5 separate regions of the Homo sapiens genome follow, and regions 2, 3, 4 and 5 are each linked to region 1. Evidence: promoter capture Hi-C in 16 types of primary human blood cells and fetal thymus (Javierre and others, 2016). All regions are on one chromosome and are shown on one strand. Each heading gives the region's core, a stretch centred on a gene start or on the middle of the fragment in contact. The rest is flanking DNA. Distances are from core to core; before and after follow the strand shown.

The links. Contacts are between HindIII fragments. The CHiCAGO score rates a contact against its expected background, and 5 or more counts as called.
Region 2: a contact is called between a fragment that was not itself captured here and the fragment with the promoter of A2ML1-AS1 in region 1, in 4 of 17 cell types (M0 macrophages, activated CD4 T cells, megakaryocytes and 1 more). The highest score is 7.4, in M0 macrophages.
Region 3: a contact is called between a fragment that was not itself captured here and the fragment with the promoter of A2ML1-AS1 in region 1, in 1 of 17 cell types (endothelial precursors). The highest score is 6.1, in endothelial precursors.
Region 4: a fragment that was not itself captured here is called in contact with the fragment with the promoter of A2ML1-AS1 in region 1 in 1 of 17 cell types (M2 macrophages); the score reaches 5.6 in M2 macrophages.
Region 5: a contact is called between a fragment that was not itself captured here and the fragment with the promoter of A2ML1-AS1 in region 1, in 2 of 17 cell types (endothelial precursors and naive B cells). The highest score is 6.5, in endothelial precursors.

What each region holds. Positions count from the first base shown.
Region 1 is chr12:8,828,332-8,834,063 of GRCh38, forward strand. It overlaps A2ML1-AS1 (A2ML1 antisense RNA 1), which reads right to left and starts at 2,975. Exons shown (of 2, transcript NR_046715.1): 1 at 2,331-2,975. It overlaps A2ML1 (alpha-2-macroglobulin like 1), which reads left to right. Exons shown (of 36, transcript NM_144670.6): 4 at 1,396-1,448. RefSeq lists enhancers at 39-781, 3,754-4,497. The HindIII fragment of the contact is 3,703 bases long and covers 2,196-5,732 here.
Region 2 is chr12:9,054,241-9,059,972 of GRCh38, forward strand. LINC00612 (long intergenic non-protein coding RNA 612) reads right to left here. Exons shown (of 3, transcript NR_034140.1): 2 at 3,380-4,636; 3 at 1,349-1,498. It also overlaps a transcript of KLRG1 not described here. Among named protein-coding and RNA genes, the nearest start is that of LINC00612, 8.0 kb to the right of the region's middle. The HindIII fragment of the contact is 2,225 bases long and covers 1,924-4,148 here.
Region 3 is chr12:8,616,157-8,621,888 of GRCh38, forward strand. No RefSeq gene overlaps it. Among named protein-coding and RNA genes, the nearest start is that of AICDA, 6.2 kb to the left of the region's middle. The HindIII fragment of the contact is 193 bases long and covers 2,178-2,370 here.
Region 4 is chr12:9,030,498-9,036,229 of GRCh38, forward strand. It overlaps a transcript of KLRG1 not described here. Among named protein-coding and RNA genes, the nearest start is that of LINC00612, 32 kb to the right of the region's middle. The HindIII fragment of the contact is 5,098 bases long and covers 943-5,732 here.
Region 5 is chr12:8,631,334-8,637,065 of GRCh38, forward strand. It overlaps the pseudogene HADHAP2. Among named protein-coding and RNA genes, the nearest start is that of AICDA, 21 kb to the left of the region's middle. RefSeq lists an enhancer at 4,400-5,209. The HindIII fragment of the contact is 4,984 bases long and covers 733-5,716 here.

The sequences.
Region 1 (5,732 bases), core at 1,725-4,224:
CCACTCTTCCTTCCCCTTTTCACAGAGGAGTCTCTCTCTGTGGCCACCACTACTCCAGGCCCACAGGAGTACTGCCTGGATACTTCCAGTATTCTCTCGAGGCCCAAAGTCTCCTTTCACCAGCTTGTGGTGAATGGTGCCTGGCCTGGGACTCTCTTTTCAGGGCAGTGAGCTCTCCTCTGACAAACAGCAGGTCCAGAAATGGCATCCAAGAGCCACAGCCCATAACTGGCGACCCCAAGGGCCTGCTTGGTGCTGTACCCCACTGTGGCTGAGCTGGTACCTAAGCTGCAAGACAAAGTCCCCTTGACTCTTCCCTCTCCTTTTCTCAAGTAGAAGGAGTCTCTCCCCATAGTCACCACAGCTGGGAATGTGCTGAATCACTGGAAGCCAGCATGTCTCTGAGTCTCACCCAAGGCCCACGACAAGTACTGCCCAGCTATCACTGCTGAGTATTTAGAGCCCCAGGGGCTAATCGGAACTCAGCTTCCAACCGCTGGGATGGGCAGTTCACCCCTGGCTAACGCTGGTCTAAATGCTCCCTCCATGGGCACTGGCTGAGTTCTGCCCTGTGTGCTTTCCCCTGTGATTGGGCAGCATTGCATTCTAAAGCCAAGTCCCACAGTCACTGTGCTCTCCCGCCCTCAAGCTCATCGATTCTGTCTCTGTACCACAGTCACTGCTGGGGGATGGCGGGGAGGGGGTGAATCAGCAATTCAAGTGTGTCTTTTCTACCCTCTTCAGTGCCTCTTTCAGTGATATAAAGTTAAAACCAGGCACTGTGATCACTCTTCTGATTTTTGGTTCTTATGACAGTGCTGTTTTGCGTGGGCAGTTGTTCAGTTTGGTGTTACTGTGGGGGATGAGGAGGGTGGTCAATGGAGGCTTCTATTCTGCCTCTTGCTCTGCCTCCTGAGCTCCAGGCCTGTGTTTGGACTTTACCTTACTCTCAGAGCAGGTTTTGTAAAAAAGTAAAACCTGTTGGGGTTTTGCTGACTCAGAGCATGTGTGAGGAAGGAGGAGGGATAGAGGAAAGATTCTGAGCAGGAGGCGGAGCGCGGTGGCTCACGCCTATAATCCCAGCACTTTGGGAGGCCAAGGCAGGTGGATCACCTGAGGTCAGGAGTTCATAGACCAGCCTGGCCAACATGGTGAAACCCTGTCTCTACAAAAATTAGCCAAGTGTGGTGGCACCTGCCTGTGGTCCCAGCTACTCCGGAGGCTGGGGTGGGAGAATCACTTGAGCCCAGGAGTTTGAGGCTGAAGTGAGCCACGGTTGTGCCACTGCACTCCAACCTGGGTGACAGAGTGAGACCCTGTATCAAAAAAAAAAAAAAAAAAAAAATTCTGAGCCAGGAAACATCCCCTTTGCTAATGATGCCTGTTCCTTTCCAGTGTATTTCCGCATTGTCACCATGGATAGCAACTTCGTTCCAGTGAATGACAAGGTGAGTTGGGAGGAGGAGAAGGAGTGGCGCAGGGAGAACAGGGAAAAGGATGAGAGATTCTCTAGGGTGGAAGTCCTCTCAGCCTGGGCGTGGCAAGGCGAGGCCCTCTGGGTTGGAGACTGCTGTGTGCGTGGGACTGGAAGTGCTGGGCGAGCTTCAGGGAGCTAGCCTAAATCAGCCTAGGAACAAGCAGAGGTAACCAGTTCTCAGCTTCAGTATCTACACATTCATCAGGTTCTTGAGAGATGGTTATGCTCCTTGTCATTTTATTTTATTTATTTGTTTATTTAGAGACAGAGTCTCGCTCTGTGGCCCAGGCTGGAGTGCAATGGCGTGACCTCAGCTCACTACAACCTCTGCCTCCTGGGTTTAAGCAATTCTCCTGCCTCGGCCTCCCAAATAGTTGGAATTACAGGCGCGCACCATCACGCCTGGCTAATTTTTGTATTTTTAGTAAAAACAGGGTTACATCATGTTGGCCAAGCTGGTCTCAAACTCCTGACCTCAAGTGTTCCACCCACCTCGGCCTCCCAAAGTGCTGGGATTACAGACAAGAGCCACCATGCTCAGCCCCCTTTCATTTTAAGAGTTTTCGCAAACTTCAAGACCTTTTCTTCAGGACTGACAAAAGCATTTTTTTTTTTAAGGCAGAAAGGAGAATGTCCGCTTCCACTCTGTTTCTATGAGGCAAAATAATTTACAAAGTAGGTAATTCTCTTAGGGCAACATTAAATAAATACATGCCAAAGCTTAAAATGTAGCAACATTTTGCGAATATTTGATTTTTCCTTGGACTCCCCATCCCTAGAATCATAAGCCTTACCACAGGTTTGATTTCAAGTTGGAGCATGTGTCATTTCTACATGCTTCTGAGACACTTACCTCCCGGACACCCCTGCTTTCTTCCTCTTCCGTCTGTCCCAGCCTGTGTATTCAAATGAAACTTTTAGAGATAAACATAGAGAAAGCATGATTTCCATTTTCCATCTCCGTGTTCTCAGAGCTGCTGTTTCCTTTCCCTATGTGCAGGGGAGTTATTAGCTTGTTATGATTGGTAATGCCCTACCCGCTACTCTCTTTCCCAATATAGATTTCCTTTTACTTCCTCCTTCCCATCACCTATGGCTTTTCTTTGGTAGGTATAACGTTGAGTACTTCTTACTTTTTTTTTTTTTTTTTAACATTTTAAGACAAGGTCTCATTCTGTCACCTAGGCTGGAGTGCAGTGGCAGTCATGGCTCACTGCAGCTTTGACCCTGCCCCGGGCTCAAGTAATCTTCCCATCTCAGTCTCCCCAGTAGCTGGGACCACAGGTGTGCACTACCACACCTGGCTAATTATTTTATTTTTTTGTAGAGTTGTGGGGGGCGGGGGTCTCACCTTGTTGCGCAGGCCGGTCTTGAGCTCCTGGCCTCTCTCGCTTTGGTCTCCCAAAGTGTTGGGATTATAGGCCTGAGCCACTGCACCCGGCCTGAGTGCTTACTTCTTAACAGACTGTTTTCTCTAGAGCTGCAACAAGGAAGTGCTGGGTTCAAAGCGTGGCCCGCAGCAGCACTATTTTAGACTCACTTACCCTCAGGGTTGATCTCATTAACTACCCCTGTTACGATTCAAATGAAGCGGGATTACTTCCAGGTGTTCTGTTTTCTGCAGTTAGGCTCTTTCTCTTGTGAAATTACTCCTTCCTCCCCACTCTATTTCTCCAGCCAAACTCTCCCTCCAAATTCAGTTGAAACACTGAGATTAACAAAAGGAATTTTACCAAGAAAGCTAGGATAAAAATTGTGTTTATGTAACCACCCAATGGGTTCACCTTGCCTGCTGCTTAGACAGGGTTGATTTATCGAGACAGGGGAATTGCAATGAAGAAAGAGTAACTCACCCAGAGCCGGCTGTGTGGGAGACTGGAGTTTTACTGTTACTCAAATCAGTCTCCCTGAGCATTTGGAAATCGAGTTTTTTTTTGTTTTTGTTTTTGTTTTTTTTTGAGACGGAGTTTCATTCTTGTTGCCCAGGCTGGAGTGCAATGGCGCGATCTCGGCTCGCCGCAACCTCTGCCTCCCAGGTTCAAGTGATTCTCCTGCCTCAGCCTCCCAAGTAGCTGGGATTACAGGCATGCGCCAACACGCCCGGCTAATTTTGGTACTTTTAGTAGAGACGGGGTTTCTTCATGTTGGTCAGGCTGTTCTTGAACTCCCGACCTCAAGTGATCCGCCCGCCTCGGCCTCCCAAAGTGCTGGGATTACAGGCGTGAGCCACCGCGCCTGGCCAGGAAATCGAGTTTTTAAAGATAATTTGGCAGGTAGGGGCTTGGGAAGTGGGGAGTGCTGATTGGTCAGGTTGGAGATGGAGTCATAGATGGTCAAAGTGAGGTTTTCTTGCTGTTTTCCTCCTCCTGGGTGGGATGGCAGAACTGGTTGAGCCAGATTACTGGTCTGGGTGGTGTCAGCTGATCCACTGAATGCAGGGTCTGCAGAACATCTCAGGCGCTGATCTTGGGTTTTACAACAGTGATGTTCTCCCCAGGAGCAATTTGAAGAGGTTCAGACTCTTGGAGTCAGAGGCTGCATGACCCCTAAAGTGTAATTTCTAATCTTGTAGCTAATTTGTTAGTCCTGCAAAGGCAGACTGGTCCCCGGGCAAGAAGGGGGTCTTTTTGGGAAAGGGCTGTTATCAATTTTGTTTCAGAGTCAAACCATGAACTGAATTCCTTCCCAAAGTTAGTCTGGCTTACACCCAGGAATCCACAAGGACAGCTTACAAGTTAGAAGCAAGATGGAGTCGGTTAGGTCTGACATCTTTCACTTTCATAGTTTCCTCAGTTATAATTTTGCAAAGGCGGCTTCAGTCCCTCCCTTTGGGTTTTATAACACCTTAATCTTCAGGTGTGGGCTAGGAAGATGGGAAAAGGCTGTCGATTGTTCTGGCTTCTTCCTGCTGAGAGGGGGCGTAGTGAGGGTACCTAAGGTGAGAGGAGTGGAACTGCTTAGAAGCAAGATAGCGTTGGTTAGGTCTGATTTCTTTCACTGTCATCGTTTCCTCAGTTTTAATTTTGCAAAGTCAGTTTCATTTACACAGCACAATATTTAATCCCCAAACAAGTAAAGTAAGCCTGATATTAACTGACCCTGTCTAACTTGATTGCTATACTCAGTTATTCAGAAACTCCAGGCAACTTCCAGTCGGAAATGCTACTTTCCTTTTTTTTTTTTGAGACGGAGTTTCGCTGCGTTGCCCAGGTTGGAGTGCAGTAGCGGGATCTCAGCTCACTGCAACCTCCCCCTCCTGGGTTCAAAGGATTCTCCCGCCTCAGCCTCCCAAGTAGTTGGGTTTACAGGAATGTACCACCACATCTGGCTAATTTTGTATTTTTAGTAGAAATGTGGTTTTACCATGTCGGTCAGGCTGGTCTCAAACTCCTGACCTCAGGTGATCTGCCCACCTCAGCCTCCCAAAGTGCTGGGATTATGGGCGTGAGCCACCATGCCTGGCCTCAGCAATGCTACTTTCCTAGTGAAACACTTATTTTCTTCCAGAGCCTATTTCTGGCCAACTGATGTCTTTCCTGATTCTTGATCCCTGTGTGAGAAAAGTACTTTGTTATCGAAGTGTTTTTTGTTGTTGTTGTTTTGTATTTTGTTTTTGAGTTACTTTGTCACCCAGGCTGGAGTGCAGTGGCATGATCCCGGCTCAAGCAACCTCCACTGTCCGGGTTCAAGTGATTCTTCTGCCTCAGCCTCCGGAGTAGCTGGGGTTACAGGCATGTGCCACCATGTCCGGCTAATTTTTGTATTTTTAGTAGAGAGGGGTTTCACCATGTTGGCCAGGCTGGTCTTGAACTCCTAACCTCAGGTGATCCAACCGCCACAGCCTCCCAAAGTGCTGGGATTACAGGTGTGAGCCACCGTGTCTGGCCTAAAGAAGTGTTTGTTTGTTTTGTTTTGTTTTGACTTTATGGAAATTTATAGCAATCTTAGTGATATTCTCCTCCTGATGTTTATATAGCCCAGGTTTGTGGAAGTCCTAGCTCATCGTGATCCTTAGATCTCCTTATTTTTTGCTTTTTTTGAAGAATTGCCATTATCCCTACTATCAAGGCTGATATTTGTATTTAGTGGTTCAGCTTCTTCACTGGTTGGCATCACATGACACTTGGCCCAAGAATAAAAAAATCAAGGACTGTCTTGATTTCATTTTCTTCTTTCCAAGTTAGATCCAAACTGGTCTTCTCTTTTGAATACCTTTGCAGTCTCTCTGAGCCCCTCTCCTGCTATTCACTGAATT
Region 2 (5,732 bases), core at 1,786-4,285, 230 kb after region 1:
TATTAGAAATGTTTTGGGTCTTCATTTAGAAGTTTGGTGATGTTTCTGTGATCAGATATATGCTGTAGAAACAGCTCATTTTATTTTTAAAATTTAAATATAATTTTTATTACCAAGGTTATGTGCAAAATTTTAAAAAGGCAAATTTTCCTATGACTCTTTATGAAAAATAATAGTTCATGGACTTCTTTAATCTTTAATTTTTATGGATACATAATAGTTGCATGTATTTATAGGGTACATGTATTTTTATACAAGCATACAACGTGTAATGATCACTTATAATTGGGATATTCATCACATTAAACGTTTATTATTTATTTGTGTTAGGAGCTTTCCTAACACAATTCTACTATTCTAGTTATTTTTAAATGGAGAGTAAATTACTGTTTACTATAGTTGCTCTATTTTGCTACTGAACACTAGATCTTATTCCTTGGTTATATTGATTAGCCTAGGGTAAAATTGGTTTTGTTCTATGTCATGTCATTTAAAGTTGCAGTTTCTAAGAACCTATCAATGGTGTTAAGAGAGGATCTACTATACAGGTTGAGCATCTCTAATCCAAAAATCTGACATCCAAAGTGTTCCAAAATCTGAAACTTTTCAAGTGCTGAAGTGATGCTAGGAGGAAATACTCACTGGAACATTCTGGGTTTCCAGTTTTTGGATTAGGGATACTCAACTGGTAAGCATACTTCAAATATTTCAAATCTAAAAAATTCAAAATTCAAAACACTTCTGGTCCCAAGTATTTTGGATAAGGGATACGCCACCTGTACTTATTTATACTTCTCCAATAACACGTGATTCTGTCACACACATAAAACTGATATCCAGATGTTTTTCAACCCAAAGTCATACAAATGGTCAGTGGCAGATTTTGGACCAGAAGTTAAGCATTTCTAATTCCATGAAATTGTCGTAATATTATGACTCCCACCTAAACATAACTTATTAATTAATTGATTGATTGATAAATTTTCACCTTTCTGCAATACGGAGCTTCTATCTAGACAGGCCAGTCATTTTACCTGGTGCTAAAATAAACCATTTCTTCTGCTTTTGCAAAAAATGTTTCCACTCAGATATACTCTACACTCTTGTCACTAATCTTCAGTTTAGAAGTTTTTTCTTGGAGTGAAACTTTCCCAGATTGCCATTACATTGCTTTGCATATTCTGAGGTTCTGCAGTAGTGAGGCTGTTGTGAATTGTTCCTAAATTTATGCTAGGTGCTCTTACCTCAATTTGGATGCCATTATTTGTTTATTGCAAATACAGGGTACAATGAAAAGCAGTAAGTGCGCATGGAGTAAATTTGCATTAAATGAAGAAGGAATCAATTATAGAGTCTCTAGAAATACATATTTATTTGCCAACCTCATTCAGTATCTGTATTGCAGGGACAAAATATCCTTTTAAAAAGTCGTGGGTCTGGGGATTCCAGCCAAGTCTTGTTTATAGACACAAGCCTCAAACATTTTCTTGCTCTGTGCCTGTGGAGAGAAGAGGAAAGCGAACAGGATGACTTCGGGCTTGCCAAGGAGTGAATTTAATTCTAATTGGATATGGACAGCAGCAGGGCTTTGCTAAAGGAGACCAAACTGGTTATGGCTGAGAATGGAATCCATCAGATATCTACCCTAATCACAGGGTAATTTCATTTACACTCTTCTGATAAGAAAATCAGGAAACCTTCCAGGAAGTTAGTGTTCCTCTCCAAAGCTGTATAGTTCTGCGTTACCTTGCAGTATGATAAATCTGATATCAACTAATAAAAGATGTAGATGATTTTGTATTTAGGAGGACTGCTTTTGAGAGCAAAATGAAGGCTTGGGATATGTAGAGCAAACTGCCTATCGGCTGCAGGGGACACTGTATTCAGCAAATTTGCTTCATCTGAAACACACAATGGGAGAAAAGCTTGAGAATGGGAGCTTCAACGGGACAGGGCTATGTGGAGAGGCTTTGACCTATTTAAGGACTGCAAACCATACTGAATCAGGGCCTGCGTGATCACAAAAATGTCAGCTCACTGGGGAAATATATAGACATGGTCAAGGAATTTCCACTCTTGATACCATTAGTATAATCCGTTACTCTGGTGGAAAATCAAAGCCTGCTCATGCTACAGTGTTCAAGCAAAGTACTAGGGGGGATCACGCGGGTATGTGTTCTTTCAGTTCTTGTTCCATATTTGCTTCTTTTTTCTTGCATGATATTTCTTATATGTTTTCCTCATCTGAAAGACTTAGCATAATTCTCTCCATAAATCAGTATAATACCCACGATTTATATTCCAGCTGAAATTTTACTTGGGGGGTGTGTGTGTGTGTGTGTGTGTGTATTTTAGGGATGGGGTCTCACTCTTTCACTCACTGCAGCCTCAAACTCCTGGGTTCCAATGATCGTCCTGCCTCAGCCTCCTGAGTAGCTGGGACTACTACAGGTGTGTACCAGCATGCTGGCTGATTTTATTTTTCAATTTTTTGTAGAGATGGGCTCTCACTTAGTTGCCCAGGCTGGTCTCAAACTTCTAGCTTTAAGAGATCATTCTGCCATGGCCTCCCAAACTGCTGGGATTATAGGCATAAGCCACTGTGCCCAGCCTCTTCATTTGCTGTTTAAAGACCACTCAACGCTATAGTTCTCACCCCTCTCTTAGTTCCTACTATAATTATTTGTATAGTTCTTAGGCTCTTCTTTATTTCTTTGCATTGCTATATTATCTTTTTAAGATTTATGTATGCCTTTATTTATAAGCACTTCTACGTAAAACTCTTGGTACTTTGGATTATTTTGCACGACTGATAGGCTTACATATCAATATACATGTATATTACAGGTAGTTTTGGCAGTAGTTTTGTAGGCCAAGGAAGAAAAAATAAGTTATGGAGACAGATTAAACTGAAAACAAGATGTACAAGGGTTTACCACACTTTTATTGCTTTAAGAATTGAGGTTTGGCCTCCACTTCCACCCTTGTTGCTACTATCTCAAGTGAAATAACTCAGAAACAGGAGGTCAAATACTTCACATTCTCACTTATAAGTGGGAGCTAAATAATTTGTACACATGGACATAGAGAGTGGGATAACAGATACTGGAGACTCAGAAGGGTGGGAGGGTGACAGGGCAAGAGGGATGGGAAATCACTTAATGGGTACAATGTACTCTAATTGGGTGATGGCTACACTCAAAGCCCAGACTTCACCACTGTGCAATGTAGCCATGTAACAAAACCATACTTGTACCCCCTAAATCTATATAAAGTAAAAAAGAAAAAAACCCCAAACACATTGGCTTTTATTTTATTTTTCCATCAAAGACACCACACTGGAAAGAACTGAGTTTATCTAGGATTCTGTTTTGCTCACCTGTCTTATAGTAATCATAGGCTTTCACAAAAGCAGGTTTCAGCTTTCTTATGGGGTTGTCTTGCAGAAGAGTGAAAGAAAAGGTCAGTGTTCAATCCGTAACCCAAGAAAGGAAGGAGTAATAATGCGGAACCAGGGAGGCCTCATCTCTTTTTCCTTAGCATCAGTCTTCATCCTTTGAAAGATAATTTTTTAGTGGGCTAATAGGATTCATTCTCTAATTCATTGTGCTCCCTAATGGCTCACATAGGGAGCAGTTGGAGGGTGATGTGGATTTTAGAGTAGGAACCTCAGGAACTTGAGCAGAGGCTCCCAAAAGTAGATTAGAAGTTTATTAGTCTTTTAAACGATTAAAATAATACATATTCCTCCATAATATCCAACACATGGCTCTGCCTATAGTGAGAGATAGATTCTTTATACTGGCAAGCTGACTCTATCTATATTAATATTAATATTTCCAAATATTCAGGAAACAGGCGTACATCAGGGGCTGTTCTTTTGCTGCAAATGAAGTTGATGGAATTACACTGTGATACGACTGACTGTGAGTAATAGATCTAGACTGATAGCATATCTGTTTATCATCTGTATCTAATCTGTCATCTACCTTATTTATCTATTATCTATCTAGCTATCTCTCTATGTATAATTTATCTAACTTCTCTCATACATGTATGCTAAGGTAAGGTTGATTTAATCACTGACAACCCTTGGAAACACTTCCTATCCTTGATTACCAACTTTCAACATGGCTTCTGGATGATGAAGCTTATTTATGGAAAAGAATGTTTATCTGAAGTATACAGAAATATTCATATGCTCATTTTAATATAAACAAACATATATGTTTTAATATAAACATATAAATATTCATATGCTCATTGTAATATAAACAAACATATATGTTTTAATATAAACATATAAATATTCATATGCTCATTTTAATATAAACAAATCCATACCTACTGGCCTCCCCCAACCCTCTTGTCTGTGACACTCCAAATCCCAGGAAGCTTGCGATGAGGAATGAGGATGTAAAATATCTCACGTGAACAGAGAGGATGTGCTTTTCCAAATGGCCTTCCTAATGACTGCTCTTCTCGTACCACGTGCTTGCCTGGTGATGAGATCCCCTAGAAGGACTGTTCACCTGGGTCTGTCTAGCAAGGCTGGCAGGGGCCCCACCTGGTCCACAGAAATCAAGATATGGTTGTTGTGCACTTCTGTCCTGCTCACGTGGCTAGATCTTTCAAGCTAAGGAAAATAAGAGAAATCACCAGTGTTACTGAATAAAGAAAGCCTGTGGGGTACAAAGAGACAAATAGACTATGAGATTGAAGAAGTCTATACATAAACAAAGCTGGGGTTAAATTCATTTAAATGAGTTCGAAGACACTTGTCCAGTAAGATGAAAACATATACAGAGTATTATGAATACCACCACATTAGATACAAGATTGAATATTCATATGATTAAGTAACAGGCGTCTTTAGCATTTGTTTGAAGGTGAGGGAGAAGTGTCCTCACATTGGATAGCTAGTCATCTGAGATGATTTGCAAAGCCATCTGTCTCTACACTGCCATTCATCTCAGCTTTCTCTACATTTCACAGTACTTAAAGACTATGCCAATGATTTTGGTACTTAATTATATCTTGCCCTGAAATGTCATTTGACAGTTTTGGTTACCCATGTGTAATATTTTTATCTAGAATGTATCAGCACCTAGCACAATGCTAAATATATATTTGGTACTATATGAATTCAATTTCCTTAGATTATGACCAATGTTGCTTTGACATTATTAGGATACCATTGTTTTATTCTTACATTGGATTAAAAAAATCCAAACACCTAGCACCTATTTACCATTTTCACTGTGGGTTTCAATGGATAAAACCAGATATCAACTTGGATACATCCAAGATTAGACAGCTCCCTGTGTAACTATAGATATAAGAAAGAAAAATAAGCCTCAGTGTCTTTTGAATCTTGCTCTCAGTTAAGGTTCAACATAAGCCCTGACATCTTTATTTATTTTTGTTTTTATGTTTAATTTTATATATGCATGTATGTATGTTGAGACAGGTTCTTGCTCTGTCACCGAGGCTGGAGTGTGGTGACATGATCACTGATCACTGCAGCTTCCCAGGCTCCAGCTATCCTCCCACCTCAGCCTCCTGAGTAGCTGGGACCACAGGTGCATGCCACTATGCCCGGCTAATTTTTGTGTTTTTGGTAGAGATGAGGTTTTGCCATGTTTCCTGGGCTGGTCTTGAACCCCTGAACTCAAGCAATCCATCCGCCTTGGCCTCCCAAACCAAAGTGTTGGGGTTACAGGTGTGAGCCA
Region 3 (5,732 bases), core at 1,024-3,523, 210 kb before region 1:
AGGTGTGAGCCACTGTGCCTGGCCCAATACAATCTTTTTTAACTGTAGTCATCATGCTGTACAATAGAGCTCTAGACTTATTAATCCTGTATAACTGCAACTTTGTACCATTTGAGCAACATCTTCCCATTTTCCCTACCTCCCCATGCCTGCTAACCACCATTTTACTTTCTTTCTTTCTTATTTTATTTTTTTTTTTTTTTTGAGACGGAGTCTCACTCTGTTGCCCAGGCTGGAGTGCAATGGTGTGATCTCGGCTCACTGCAACCTCCGCCTCCTGGGTTCAAAGGATTCTCCTGCCTCAGCCTCCCAATTAGCTGGAATTCCAAGCATGCACCACCACGCCCAGCTGATTTTTGTATTTTTAGTAGAGACGGGGGTTTCACCATGTTGGCCAGGCTGGTCTCGAACTCCTGGCCTCAAGTGATCCACCCACCTCGGCCTCCCAAAGTGCTGAGATTACAGGCGTGAGCCACTGTGGCTGGCTCACCATTTTACTTTCTGCTTCTATGTGTTCAACTTTTTAAGATTCCACATATAAGTGAGATTATGCAGTATTTTTCTTTCTGTGTCTGGCTTATTTCACCAAGCATAATGTCCTCCAGATTTATCAATGTTGTTGCAAATGGCAAGATCTCCTTTCTTAAGGCAGAATGATATTCTTATTCTGATATATATATACGTGCCACATTTTCTTGATCCATTCATCTGTCGACAGACACGTAGGTTGTCTCCATATCTTGGCTATTGTGAATAGCGCAGCAGTGGACATGGAGTTATCTCTTCAAGGCACTGATTTTGTTTTCTTTGGGTATTTACCCAGAAGCAGGATTGCTCAATATGGTAGTTCTGTATTAAAATTTTTGAGGATCATATAGTAGTTCTAGTTTTAGTTTTTTTTTTTTGGAGAAACCTCCATACTGTTCCCTATAACGGCTGTGCCAATTTACATTCCCACCAACAGTGTACAAAGGTTCCTTTCGCTCCACATTCTCACCAACGCTTGTTTTCTTTTGTCTTTATGGTAATAGCCATTCTAACAGGTGTGAGGTTAAGAGATAGGAAAAAATAAAAATGTAAAATGCAAACCCAATAATAGGGGCCAGGTGTGGTGGCTCACATCTGTAATCCCAGCACTTTGGAAGGCCGAGGCAGGCAGATCACCTGAGGTCAGGAGTTCGAGATCAGCCTGGCCAACATGGTGAAACCCCGTCTCTACTGAAAAAAAAAAATACAAAAATAAGCCAGTTGTGGTGGCAGGCAACTGTAATCCCAGCTACTCGGGAGGCTGAGGCAGGAGAATTGCTTGAACCCGGGAGGTGGAGGTTGCAGTGAGCAGAGATCGTGCCACTGCACTCCAGCCTGGGAGACAGAGTGAGACTCCGTCTTAAAAAAAAAAAAAAAGAAAAAGAAAGCATATAATAGGAAGAACTGACTATTTTTTCTTCCACCTTCACATACCACTCAACACAGCCCTTCTGACACCAGATGTGTGCCGGTCTTTTCCCATACACCAAGCAGTTTTCCAGTGGACATCAACTGGGTGTTCTATAATTTAATTCAATTCTGGCATTATCTACCTGGAGATAGCATCAGACCTCACAGATTGTGGGTCAGTCCCACAAGATGGACCCCACTTCAGATGCCAATCTCAAATTTCAGGTTGTGACCTGTACTTCTGATCAACTGGCTTAGGGGTTCCTACAACCCATGCCTTGGGTTCCATTAATTTGCTAAGCTGGCTTAGCAAACTCGGGGAAACACTTACTTAACTTTTAGCAGTTTATTATGCTAATAAAGGATATAATAAAGCATACAAGCCAGGTGTGGTGGTGCATGCCTGTAATCCCAGCACTCCGGAAGGCCAAGGTGGGCAGATCACTTCGGGCCAGGAGTTTGAGACCAGTCTGGCCAGCATGATGAAACTTCCATCTCTACTAAAAAAACACAAAAATTAGTTGGGCATGGTGGCTCACACCTATAGTCCCAGCTACTCAGGATGCTGAAGCATGAGAATCGCTTGAACTCAGGAGGCAGAGGTTGCAGTAGCTGAGATCGCACCACTGCACTCCAGCCTGGGTGACAGAGCGAGATTCTGTCTCAAAAAAAAAAAAAGTTACGTATGAACAGCTCGATGAAAGTACAGAGGGTAAGAACGGGAGGGGTCTGAGCACAGAAGCTTCTGTCCCCTGGAGTTGGGGTGTGCCACCCTCCTGCTACACAGATATATTTACCAACTCAGAAGCTCTTTGAACTCCATACTTCAGGGATTTTTATGGAGACTTGATCATGTAGGCACGATTAATTATTTACTCTATTCCCAGCCCCTCTCGTCTCTCGGGAGAATGGGGAGTGGGGCTGAAAATTCCAAGCTTCTAGTCATGACTTGGTCTTTCTGGGGACTGGCACCTCTCCTAGAGCCTACCAGGAGTCATCTCATTAGAACAAAACAAACTCCTGTCATCCAGAAATTCCAAGCTATTCGAAAGCTCTGTGTCAGATGCTCTTATCACTCAGGAAATTCTCAGGGCTTTAGGAAATCTGTGCCAGGAACCAGGGGCAGAGACCAAATATATATTATTCTTATTATTTCACAGAGATGATATCTCACTGTGATTTTGATTTGTATTTCCCTCATGATTACCGTGTTAAGCACATTTTCATACACTTGTTGGACAATTGTATGTCTTCTTTTGAGAAATGTCTATTCAGGTCCTCTGTCCATTTTTAATTGGGTTATTTATGTGAGAATAAATATGATTTAAAAGCTGTTCGTGGACCAGGCGCGGTGGCTCACGCCTATAATCTCAGCACTTTGGGAGGCTGAGGTGGGCAGATCACTTGAGGTCAGGAGTTCGAGACCAGCCTGGCCAACATGGTGAAACCTCATCTCTACTAAACATACAAAAATTAGCTGGGTGTGGTGGCGCATACCTGTAATCCCAGTTACTCGAGAGGCTGCGGCAGAATTGCTTGAACCCAGGAGGCGGAGGTTGCAGTATGCTGAGATCACACCATTATACTCCAGCCTGGGCGACAAGAGTGAAACTCCATCTCAAAAAAATTTTAAAAAGCTGTTGGAACCCCAGAAACACTGTAAGCCTTGAGAGAGATGTGACTGTGATCTGAGTCACATATGGTTGCAACATCTGCTTCTCAAGTTATAGACTAACCCACTTCCTTATTTTTCTTGTCCTGTACAGTAACTAGAGAAAATTAAATGACCTCAAGGACAAAAACCTCCTGCCTTGTTAATTAATGACCCTTATCATAGATTAACTTCTCCTTTGTCGTCTTGCTTTGCCTAGACCAGATGACAGAAAACATATGACTATTACAACATCTGCAAAAGATGCTATATGTACCCTTCCCAAAAAGAAACACTGCCTATAATCAATCAAATTGTTATAACTATGCACCAACCTTGTATGAAAAATGCTGTAAGTGTGCATAAACTCCTGTGTCTCTGCCTATATAAATGATACTTTAACTTCCCTAGTTCAGAACACTGACTCCATTTCCTTAGAGTTGGTGTTTCTGAATGGACTGTCTTCAAACTTTGTCCTTGAATAAACTTTATTTAAATTAGATTCTGACCCTTTTGATTATTTTAGGTTGACATTTTTTTTTGGTACTAAGTTGTATGAATTCCTTATATATTTTGGATATTAAACCCCTGTCTACCTTTTTTTCCTTTTTGAAACAGGGTCTCGCTCTGTCACCCAGGCTGGAGTCCAGTGATGCAATCACAGCTCACTGCAGCCTTGACCTCCCAGGCTCAAACAATCCTCCTGCCTCAGCCTCCCGAGTAGCTGGGACTACAGACACAAGCCACCATGCCCAGATGATTTTTATACTTTTTTTGTAGGAATAGAGGCCTCACTTTGTTGCCCAGGCTGACCTTAAACTCCTTGGCTCAAGTGATCCTCCTGCCTCAGCTTCCCAAAGTTCTGGGATTATATGGCATTAGCCACTGCACCTGGCCGGACATTAACCCCTTCATCAGATATATGATTAGCAAATATTTTCTTCTAACCTATAGGTTGCCTTTTCATGTTGATGATTGTTTTCTTTGCTGTGTAGAAGCTTTTCAGTTTGATTTAGTCCCACTTTTTATTTATGCTTTTATTGCCTATTCTTTCGGTGTCATAGCCAAAAACATCATTGCCAAGGCCAACGTCAAGAAGCTGCCCATTCCCACTCCCATTTTCTTCTAGTAGTTTTACGGTTTCAGGCCTTATTTAAGTCCTTAATCCATTTTAGTTGATTTTTGTGTATGGTGTAAGATAAGGGTCCAATTTCATTCTTTTGCATGTGGATATCCAGTTTTCCTAACACAATTTATTGAAGAGACTATCCTTTCCCTACTGTGTATTCTTGGTACCCCTGTTGAAAATTAGTTGACTTGTGGGGTGTGGTGGCTCACGTCTGTATTTCCAACACTTTGGGAGGCCGAGGTGGGTGGATCACTTGAGGTCAGGAGTTCAAGACCAGCTTGGCCAACATGGTGAAACCCTGTCTCTACTAAAAATACAAAAATTAGTCAGGTGTGGTGGCTCATGCCTGTAATACCAGCTACTTGGGAGGCTGAGGCAGGAGAATCACTGAACCTGGGAGGTGGAGGTTGCAGTGAGCTGAGATCATGCCACTGCACTCCAGGCCGGGCAACAGAGACTCTGTCTCAAACACATACACACACACACACACACAAAGAAAATTAGTTGACTTTGTATGCTGGAGTTTATTAGGGAGTTTTCTATTCTCTTAGTCTACATGTCTGTTTTTATGCCAGTACCATACAGTTTTGACTACCATAGTTTTGTGCTATAATTTGAAATCAGAAAGTATGCCTGTAACTTTGTCCTTCTTTCTCAAGATTGATTTGTGTATTCAGGGTCTTTTGTTCCACACAAATTTTAGAATTGTTTATTTCTTTGAAAAATGGAATTTTGATGGGAATTGTGTTTAATCATTTAATCTCTATGTCCCTTTATTTAGTATAAACTTTTTTTTTTTTTTGAAGGAGTGGAGTGCAGGCTGGAGTGCAGTGGCATGATCATGGCTCACTACAGCCTCGATTTCCGAGGTTCAGGTGATCCTCCCACCTCAGCCTCCTGAGTAGCTGGGACTACAGGTATGTGCCACCATGCCCAGCTAATTTTTGTATTTCTTGTAGAGATGGGGTTTTGCCATGTTGCTCAGGCTGGTCTCGAACTCCTGGGCTCATATGATCTGTCTGCCTTGGCCTCCCAAAGTGTTGCGATTATAGGCGTGAGCCACTGTGCCAGGCCAATATAGACATTTTAACAATATTAACTCTTCTAATCCATGAACACAGGATATCCTTCCACTTATTTGTCGTCTTCTTCAACTTCTTTCATCAATGTTTTATAAGTTTCAGTGTATATATCTCTTACCTCCTTGGTTAAGTTTATTCTTAACTATTGTATTCTTTTTGATGCTATCATAAATGAAATTAGTTTCTTGATTTCCTTTTCGGGTAGATATTTGTTCTTGTAAATAAATGCAACTACTTTTTGTATGTTGGCTTTTTAATCCTGCAACTTTACTGAATTTATTAGTTCTAATTGTTTTTTTGTGTGTGGACTCCTTAGTTTTCTACATACAGAATTATGTCATCTACAAAGAGAAATAATTTTACTTCTTCCTCTCAAATTTGGATGCCTCTTATTTTTCTTGTGTGATTGTTCTTGCTAGCACTTCCAGCATTA
Region 4 (5,732 bases), core at 2,242-4,741, 200 kb after region 1:
CCGGATTCACATGATTCTCCTGCCTCAGCCTCCCAAGTAGCTGAGATTACAGCAGCCCACCACCACACCTGGCTAATTTTTTGTATTTTTAGTAGAGACGGGGTTTCACTATGCTGGCCAGACTGGTCTCGAACTCCTAACCTTGTGATCTGCCCGCCTCGGCCTCCCAAAGTGCTGGGATTACAGGCGTGAGCCACTGTGCCCAGCCTAAAGGAACTATTTTTACATGATAAAAAACAATGGTATGGAGTCAGCAAGGAAAACCACAATAACACAAATGCTGACTTTCCTCTCTTCCACTACTTCTACTCTCCTTGCAACTTAGTAGCCTCATTTTGAGAGGACATAATTTTAAGAAACAGTTGGCTTGTAGTTAAGGCAAAGAGGAGTGGGGATGTTCTATGTAAAGGTTGATAAGATAGGGTAACCTGTTTTCAATGTAACAGGGATTGCAGTGAGCACACCAGATAGCATCTCCCGGCAGGGGGTAGTGAGAGAATGGTCAAATTGTGGAGGCCTAGCTTGCAATGGCATGAGACTGTGGGCAGAAATTAATTTTAACATTTTAGAATTAATTTTTGTTGGGGATTTCCCTGCAGGGCTGCTGCACGTGGTGAGGGCTCAACCCCTCAGGCACTCCTGTGAGGCCCCTGGTCACCCAGGGGCACCTTTAGGCTGGGAGGGGCAAAAGCCCTTTGTCTTCAGAGCTGAAAAACTCAGTCTCTCATTTAGCTTTGAAAACAACAGTTCAGTTCCTCAGAATCAAGATAAATTTTAGGAGAAAAAGCAATAGAGAATTCCCTTTAGAATGCATCTCTGAATTAGAATTAGGATCCTTAAACAACAATTTCCTAGGAGAAAACCAGCTCAGAATAAATCAAGGACTGTCAAACAAAGGGAGGTCTGGGGCTCAGGAGGACTTACCCGTTCCACCGGGGGAGAAGCTTGAACTCAGTGGGACTTCAACGGGCCGCTGCTGGTACCTTAGCTCTGGTTTCGGGCAACTCTTTCAGGGTCCTGAGTCTTCTCTGAGGCCTCATGTATTTGGGCACCAAAATATTGTCAACAAAAAGAGTCAAACTCTATAAAATATTTGAAGATTTATTCTGAGCTAAATATGAGTGACCATGGCCCACGACGCAGCCCTCAGGAGGTCCTGGGAACATGTGCCCAAGGTGGTCGGGGCACAGCTTAGTTTTATATATTTCAGGGAGTCATGACACATCAATCAAACACACTTAAGAAATGCATTGGTTTCGCTCAGAAAGGTGGGACAACTCAAAGCAAGGGCTTCCAGGCTAAAGGTAAATTTAAATCTTTTCTGGCTGACAATTGGTTGAGTTTGTCTGACCCGTATTAATTTCCTAGTGCTGCCCTGACAAAGTACCATAAACTTGGTGGCTAAAGCCAGCGGAAATGTATGGTCTGACAGTTCTGGAGGCCCAAAGTCAAAGTGTTGGCAGGGATGGTTCCTTCTGGGGGAGAATCTACTCAGTCCACTAATTTAAATACTAATCTCTAGTGGAAACACCTGAACAGACACACGCAGAAGTAATACTTAACCAGATATATGGATATTTCATGGCCCTGTTAAGCTGACACATAAAATTAATCATCACAGAAGCTCACCTATGATTAATTGATTTTTTTGAGGGTGCAAAAAGCTACTCAGTGATGAGTATAATAAAATATTAGAAAGAGTGTTTTTGGTTGACTCAGAATTTTGGCTAAAATCTAAAGCTGAGAACAATAGGTGTTAAGAAATCCTATATTCCAAAGAGAGTTCTTAGCTTACCCTACAGGACTTTCCAAACTGGTCTAAGGACAATTACCAACAGCCCATATCAGGAAAAGATAGAGACTGATTGAAACCACCTTTGCGAAATTATGACAGTAAGAGAAAACTGACATAGTTGACTCCATTTTGCTTCTAAGCTACAAGATGTCTTCGGTGATTCCTCAGTGTAGGCCAAACTAACTTCAGGAGGCACTTAATTTATACTTTAACCTTAGAGCAAAGATGATAATAGCCCTCTCCTAAAACTAAACCACCTCTGTAAAACTAATGAAAGGCCACAGGTTAGGATTAGGAATTATGAGAGGGGCCTGAATTCTGCTAAAATGTAGGCAAAGTGAAACGATAACCAGCCATTGTTCTGGAGGTCACAAGATTTGTAACTTCCCCAATTACTCCTGTAGATGACATCAACTGTTATAGAACCCAAGATTGGCCTTTTGAGATTTTTTTCAGACTGTTAACGTTTCTCATGACCAGCTGACTCGGGCCAGACCTGCAACTCATGAGTCAATCAGTCCTGTAGCCCTACCCAGAGGCCAATTCAGTGCATGAAGACTATTTTCCACACTCCTATGATTTTACCCCAATCAATCAATATTCCCCATTCTCTAGCCCTCTGACCACCAACTATCCTTTAAAACCCCCAAAACTTTGAGCCTTCAGGGAGACTGATTTGAGTGATATTTCTGGTTCTACTACATGAGTTAGCCTCCTGTCAATCAAACTCTTTCTTTACTGCTATGCCGTAGTCTCAGTGAATTGATTTTGCCTGTGCAGAGGGCAGGAAGAAACTGCCGGTGATTACATGATTGCAGAGACAAATTCCTTGAAAGAATTTGTGAATCAAAAGATTGCTGGGGTCTGGGTGTAGTGGCTTACATTTGTAACCACAGCACTTTGGGAGGCCAAGGAGGGAAGATCGCTTGAGCTTAGGAGTTCAAGACTGGCCTGGGGAACGTAGAAAGTCATCATCTCTAACAAAAATAAAAAAATAAAAGAATTAGCTGGGCAAGGTGGTTTATATCTGTAGTCCCAGCTACTAGGGAGGCTGAGGTGAGAGGATCACTTGAGCCTGGGTGATAGAGGCTACAATGGGCTACAATCATACCACTGCACTCCAGCTAGGGTGACAGAATGAGACTCTTTAAAAAAAAAAAAGGGGATTACTGGGGTATTTCCCCTCCCACCCTGATTCCAAGTGAGAGGGGAAACAAGAGGGCACTTTGGGGAAATTGGGCACTGCTTGCTGAAGGCAGACAGAGTCTTACTCCTTGGCTCTATGCTTGCTCAGCTATGGGAGCTTGTAAATTTGAGACAGCATGGAGAATAAAAAAGTGTTTGGAAGAACCTGACCTATGTCCCTTACTGAAGAGGACAAAGACACTTTTGTGTGACTATTGTTTAGAGAGGCCCAGTGGTGAGAAGTTAGCAGAAGTTGCTCCTGATGACAGGGTAAGGTGGGGTGGCTTCAAGGCTCAGCTTCACTATTTGGTGAGTGGGTATATGAGCTCCCCTCATCCCAGAAGTAGCAGATGTGGGTTTGCGTCCTCTACAAAGGGCTTTATCCAAGAGGACTCCCTATCGGTGGGAGATCCTACAAGAAAGAAGCCATGTTGGATGCTTCACTAGAAGTTGAGAGCTAAGGTAAAGTCACAGGAGGCCTCCCAGAGAGCATCTCACCTGTATCAGGGAATGATGCAGTGCAGAAATTCCTCAGGGATGTATCTCTGTGTAGGATCTCCTAAAAATCCATTGAAGAACCCCATGAGAGACAATTGGTATTTGTGTATTGTATCAGTCAGGTTTCAACCACAGAAGCAGAACCAGTAGAAGAGATACATACAGTCATGCACAGCATAATGATGTTTCGGTTAACAATAGATCACACATATGCCGTAATTATATCCATAAGATTATAGCGAAGCTGAAAAATTCCTAGTGACATCCTATCTCTAGGGACATCATAGCTGTCATAACATCACAGCACAACACATTACTCATTACTCACGTGTTCGTGGTGATGCTGGTGTAAATGAACCTACTTCACTGCCAGTCATGTAAAAACCATAGCACATACGGTTATGTATGATACATAATACCTGATGATAATATGTGCCTCTGTTATTGATTTATGTACTTAATATACCATACTTTTTTTTTTTCTTTTGAGATGGAGTTTCACTCTTGTCACCCAGGCTGGAGTGCAATGGTGTGATCTCGGCTCGCTGCAACCTCCGCCTCCCCGGTTCCAGCGATTCTTCCGCCACAGCCTCCCGAGTAGCTGGGATTTACAGGCATGCGCCACCATGCCCGGCTAATTTTTTGTATTTTTAGTAGAGACGGGTTTCATCATGTTGGCCAGGCTGGTCTCAAACTCCTGACCACAGATGATCCGCCCGCCTCGGCCTCCCAAAGTGTTGGGATTACAGGCGTGAGGCACCGTGCCTGGCCATTATACTTTTTACTGTTATTTTAGAGTACATTCTTTATACTTATCCATTAAAAAATTTGTTAATTGTAAAACGGTCTTGGGCAGGCCCTTCAGGAGGTTTTCCAGAACAAGGCATTGTTATCACAGGAGAGGACAGCTTCATGCGTGTTACTGCCCCTGAAGAACTCCCAGTGGGACAAGATAAGGAAGTAGAACAGTGATATTGATGATCCTGACCCTGTGTAGGCCTTGGCTAATGTATGTTTTTGTGTCTTAGTTTTTAACAAAGCTATTTAAAAAGTAAAAAAAAAATTAAATAGAAAAAAACTTATATAATAAGGATATAAAGAAAGAAAATATTTTTGTATAGCTGTACAATACATTTGTGTGGTAAGCTGTGCGTTCATACAAAAAAGTGTAGTTTGGAGATTTCTCGAAGAACTTAAGACAGAACTACCTTGGAACCAACCCAAATGTCCATCGATGATAGACTGGATAAAGAAAATGTGGCACATATACACCATGGAATACTATACAGCCATAAAAAAGGATGAGTTCATGTCCTTTGCAGGGACATGGATGAAGCTGGAAACCATCATTCTCAGCAAACCATCACAATAACAGAAAACCAAACACCACATGTTCTCACTCATAAGTGGGAGTCGAACAATGAGAACACATGGACACAGGGAGGGGAACATCACACACCAGGGCCTGTCAGGGGGTAGGGAGCTAGGGGGAGGGATAGCATTAGGAGAAATACCTAATGCAGGTGACGGGTTGATGGGTGCAGCAAACAACCATGGCACATGTATACCTATGTAACAAAACTGCACGTTCTGCACGTGTACTCCAGAACTTAAAGTAAAAAAAAAAAAAAAAGACAGAACTACCATTCAACTCAGCAATCTCATCACTGAGTATATACCCAAAGGAATATAAATTGTTCTACCAAAAAGGCACATGCACGTGCATGTTCCTTGCAGCACTATTCACAATGGCAGAGACATGGAATCAACCTAGATGCCCATCAACAGTGGACTGGATAAAGAAAATGTGGTACATCTACACCATGAAATACTACACAGCCATAAAAAATAAAATCATATTCTTTGCAGCAACATGGATGGAGCTGGAGGCCATTATCCTAAGTGAACCAATGTAGGAACAGACAACCAAATACCACATGTTCTCACTTATAAGTAGGAGGTAAACATTTAGTATGCAGGGAGGCAGAGTGGAACAAAAGACACTGAGGGCTACTTGAGAGTGGAGATTGGGAGAGAGTGAGGATGGAAAAACTGTCTATTGGGTACTGTGCTCATACCTGGGTAACGAAATCATTTGTACACCCAACCCAGTGACATGCAATTTACCCATGTAACAAACCTGCACATGTACCCACTGAACCTAAAATAAAAGTTAACACAAAAAGGAAAAAGTTTATTAAGTAAAAAAATTAGAAGAAGCTAAGGTTAATTTATTATTGAAGAAAGAGATTTC
Region 5 (5,732 bases), core at 1,975-4,474, 200 kb before region 1:
GGTGATTATTAAGTCAGGAAACAACAGATGCTGGCGAGGCTGTGGAGAAATAGGAATGCTTTTACACTGTTGGTGGGAGTGTAAATTAGTTGAACCATTGTGGAAGACGGTGTGACAATTCCTCAAGGATCTAGAACCAGAAATACCACTTGACCCAGCAATCCCATTACTGGGTATATACCCAAAGGGTTATAAATCATTCTACTATAAAGACACATGCACATGTATGTTTATTGCAGCACTATTGACAATAGCAAAGACTTGGAACCAACCCAAATGCCCATCAATGATAGACTGGATAAAGAAAATGTGGCACATTTATGCCATGGAATACTATGCAGCCATAAAAAGAATGAGTTCATGTCCTTTGCAGGAACATGGATGAAGCTGGAAACCATCATTCTCACCAAACACAGGAACAGAAAACCAAACACCACATGTTCTCACTCATAAGTGGGAGTTGCACAATGAGAACACATGGACACAGGGAGGGGAACATCACACACCAGGGCCTGTTGGGGGATGGGGGGCAAGGGGACAGAGAGCATTAGGACAAATACCTAATGCATGCAGGGCTTAAAACCTAGATGATGGGTTGACAGGTGCAGCAAACCACCATGGCACATGTATACCTATGCAACAAACCTGCACGTTCTGCACATGTATCCCAGAACTCAAAGTAAAATTAAAAAAAAAAAAAAGAATAACCAAAATTTCGTCTTTCTACTTCAAAGCTTCCCTTAAAGAAACGTAGAAGACGAGATATTTCAAAAATATAAGTTGTCACCATCAACAAGTTATCTGCACCCATAGTTCCAAGTTTTCTGATTAGTTATGAAATATGAGTAGATTTATGGTTCTCACATTTTGGTGTGAGTGAGTGAGTGCATAAAATTGCAGATTCTACAAATTTTGATTTCATGCATCCCAGGGCTCTGCCGTTTTGAAAAACATGCCAATAATTCATTCCAAATCTGGTGGTCAGTTTGGAGCCAAACTTTGATAGATATTGGCCTAGAAGATCTCCAAAGTCTCATCCAGCTCTAAAACGACAATATATATATTTTTAAACTGTCATGGGGTTATGGGGAAAAGGAGGTCGCTTTTCAACAAATTGAAATGCCAGGGAAAATTAGAGGTGCTCCAAATCACATGGAACTCTTCACAGGGTTTTTTTCTTTGTGGGTAGATACATTCCAAAGACCAAATTCCATATTAGTTGTTTGCTCAGAGATGCAATGTAAAGACTGATATGATTCCAAAGACTAGTAGAATAAATCTTGACCCAATTAGCTCTAAAATGGATGAGGGACAGTTCCTAAGGAAATTATAGCATATTAGAAACAACATGTTTTCTGTAGAATTGCCATTCTCATCTATAAAGATATTTCTTTCTAGAGAGTCTCGAAGTCCTGGAACCATGTTGGTAAATTCTTCCTCCTTGGTTCTCTTTTTCTTTTAGGGTCTGCACGGATGATTGCCTTTCTACTAATCAAATCACAACCCCTCTTGATTTCATTAAAATCAGTGTCCTTAATGAGATTTGAGAAGCAAACGAATTGACATCAGCAGCTCAAATTCTTTTTTTTTTTTTTTTTTTAGACGGAGTCTCGCTTTGTCGCTCAGGCTGGGGTGCAGTGGCGCGATCTGGGCTCACTGCAAGCTCCGCCTCCCAGGTTCACGCCATTCTCCTGCCTCCGCCTCCCGAGTAGCTGGGACTACAGGCGCCCACCACCTCGCCCGGCTAATTTTTTCTATTTTTTAGTAGAGACGGGGTTTCACCGTGTTAGCCAGGATCGTCTCGATCTCCTGACCTCGTGATCTGCCCGCCTCGGCCTCCCAAAGTTCTGGGATTACAGGCGTGAGCCACTGCGCCCGGCCAGCAGCTCCAAATTCTTTAGTTCACACTGCAGCCGGTTTCCCCCTCCCCACAACCCCTCACCCTTCTTACCCACCCATCACCGATCCACACACTCCCCGCCCATATCCACACATTGGCTAAAATTACCAATCAATGAGGGCCTTTTCACTTTGTTACCAGAGGAGGAAAGGGAGAGTCAACCATCTCAGTATGGTTAGAAAACAACACTACTAACTCGGTACATGCCAGCACTTTGGGTAATTTATTCAGCCTGCCCCTACCTCCATGCATTCGGGTTACTTTAGACCTCCATCCATAGGTTCCCTAAAGGAGGTATGGCTACAGCAAAAAATAAGTAAAATCAAAATTCTCCTATTGAGATGATTTTCCTGGATGTGCTCTGTAATTAGTTATTTACGCTCCGAGCAAATAATCCTAAAATCTTGATTAAGACAGACTAGAAAAGTCACATTGTGCATGATTTCATTTATAGGGAAGTATTTAATTTATATGAAAATATATCCGGGATAGGTAAATCCCTAGAGGCAGAAAGCAGACTGGTAGTTGCCCAGGGGCTAGAGAGGAGACTAGGGAGTTGCTACTTAAGGAATATGAGGTTTTCTTTTGGGGATAGGAAAAAGTTTTGAAAATAGAGGTGGTTGGGCCGGGCGCGGTGGCTCACGCCTGTAATCCCAGCACTTTGGGAGGCCGAGGCGGGGCAGATCACGAGGTCAGGAGATCGAGACCAACCTAGCTAACACGGTGAAACCCCGTCTCTACTAAAAATACAAAAAAAAATTAGCCGGGCGTGGTGGCGGGCGCCTGTGGTCCCAGCTACTCGGGAGGCTGAGGCAGGAGAATGGCGTGAACCCGGGAGGCGGAGCTTGCAGTGAGCCGAGACCTCGCCATTGCCCTCCAGCCTGCGCGACAGAGCAAGACTCCGTCTCAAAAAAAAAAAAAAAGAAAAGAAAAAGAAAAAGAAAAAGAAAATAGAGGTGGTAGTTACACAAGTCTGTATGTACCAAACGCCACTCAATTGTACACTTTAAAATGCTTAATAGTGTGTTATGTCAATTTCACCTTAATTTTTAAAAATCCTGATTAAGAGGAAAAGTCCTCCGCTCAGGCGGCCCTGCTAAAGTGCTCTTCACTGCTGTCCTCTTCAGCTCAACATGGTGGCCTACCGGGCGATTGGCATCCTCAGCCGCTTCTCTGACTTCAGGATCCTCTGATCCCAAGGTTATATACGCCGCAATTTTACAGAGTCTTCTGCTTTGCTGACCAGAACCCATATTAACTATGGAGTCAAAGGGGATGTGGCAGTTATTCGAATTAAATCTTCCACTTCAAAGGTAAATACACTGAGTAAAGAGCTGCATTCAGAGTTCACGGAAGTTATGAATGAAGTCTGGGCTACTAATCAAATCAGAAATGCTGTCCTTATTTCATCCAAAGCCAGGCCGCTTTATTGCAGGTGCTGATATCAATATGTTAGCCACTTGCAAGACCCCTCAAGAAGTAACACAGGTATCACAAGAAGCACAGAGAACATTTGAGAAACTTGAAAAGGCCGCAAAGCCTGTTATAGCTGCCATCAGTGGATCCTGCCTGGGAGGAGGGCTTGAGCTTGCCATTTCATGCCAATACAGAATAGCAACAAAAGATGGAAAAACAATATTAGGTGCCCCTGAAGTCTTGCTGGGGATCTTACCAGGAGCAGGAGGCACACAAAGGCTGCCCAAAATGGTGGGTGTGCCTGCTGTTTTTGACATGATGCTGACTAGTAGAAACATTCATGCAGATAGCGCAAAGAAAATGGGACTGGTTGACCAATTGGTAGAACCCCTGGGACCGGGAATAAAACCTCCAGAGGAATGGACAATCGAATACCTGGAAGCAGTTGCAATTACTTTTGCCAAAGGACTAGCTGATAAGAAGATCTCTCCAAAGAGAGACAAGGGATTGGTGGAAAAATTGACAGCGTACACCATGACTATTCCATTTGTCAGGCAACAGGTTTACAAAAAAGTGGAAGAAAAAGTGCAAAAGGAGACTAAAGGCCTTTATCCTGCACCTCTGAAAATAATTGACGTGGTAAAGACTGGAATTGAGCGAGGGATTGATGCTGGTTATCTCTCTGAATCTCAGAAATTTGGATAGCTTGCAATGACCAGTGAATCAAAGGCCTTGATGGGTCTCTACCATGGTCAGGTCTTGTGCAAGAAGAATAAATTTGGAGCACCACAGAAGGATGTTAAGCGTCTGGCTATTCTTGGTGAAGGGCTGAAGGGAGCAGGCATCACCCAAGTCTCTGTGGATAAGAGGCTAAAGACTATACTTAAAGATGCCACACTCACTAGGCTAGGCCAAGGACAGCAACAAGTGTTCAAAGGATTGAATGATAAAGTGAATAAGAAAGCTCTAACATCATTTGTAAGGGATTCCATCTTCAGCAACTTGACTGGGTGTGGGGAAAAGAGAGATCAGACGGTTACTGTGTCTATGCGGAAAGAAGAAGACATAAGAGACTCCATTTTGTTCTGTACTAAGAAAAATTCTTCCGCCTTGAGATGCTGTTAATCTGTAACCCTACCCCCAACCCTGTGCTTGCGGAAACATGTGCTGTGTCGACTCAAGGTTTAATGGATTTAGGGCTATGCAGGATGTGCTTTGTTAAACAAATGCTTGAAGGCAGCATGCTCATTAAGAGTCATCACCACTCCCTAATCTCAAGTACACAGGGACACAAACACTGCGGAAGGCCGCAGGGACCTCCGCCTAGGAAAGCCAGGTATTGTCCAAGGTTTCTCCCCATGTGATAGTCTGAAATATGGCCTCGTGGGAAGGGAAAGACCTGACCGTCCCCCAGCCCGACACCCGACACCCGTAAAGGGTCTGTGCTGAGGAGGATTAGAAAAAGAGGAAAGCCTCTTTGCAGTTGAGATAAGAGGAAGGCATCTGTCTTCTGCTCATCCCTGGGCAATGGAATGTCTCGGTGTAAAACCCGATTGTATATTCCATCTACTGAGATAGGAGAAAACCGCCTTAGGGCTGGAGATGAGACATGCTGGCAGCAATACTGCTCTTTAATGCATTGAGATGTTTATGTATGTGCACATCAAAGCACAGCACCTTTTTCTTTACCTTGTTTATGATGCAGAGACATTTGTTCACATGTTTTCCTGCTGACCCTCTCCCCACTATTACCCTATTGTCCTGCCACATTCCCCTCTCCGAGAGGGCAGAGATAATGATCAATAAATGCTGAGGGAACTCAGAGACCGGTGCCGGCGCCGGTCCCCTGGGCCCACTTTTCTTTCTCTATACTTTGTCTCTGTGTCTCTTTCTTTTCTCAGTCTCTCGTCCCACCCGACGAGAAACACCCACAGATGTGGAGGGGCAGGCCACCCCTTCAACTGGGCAGCTTGATTAGCAACGTTTTAAAGGTCGACATGGTGATTGAAGCTGTGTTTGAGGACCTTAGTCTTAAGCACAGAGTGCTAAAGGAAGTAGAAGCGGTGATTCCAGATCACTGTGTCTTTGCCAGTAACACATCTGCTTTCCCAATCAGTGAAATCGCTGCTGTCAGCAAAAGACCTGAGAAGGTGATTGGCATGCACTACTTCTCTCCCATGGACAAGATGCAGCTGCTGGAGATGATCACAACCGAGAAAACTTCCAAAGACACTCAGTGCTTCAGCTGTGGCAGTCAGTCTCAAGCAGGGGAAGGTCATCATTGTGGTTATGGATGGACCTGGCTTCTATACCACCAGGTGTCTTGCACCCATGATGTCTGAAGTCATCCGAATCCTCCAGGAAGGAGTTGACCTGGAGAAGCTGGATTCCCTGACCACAAGCTTTGGCTTTCCTG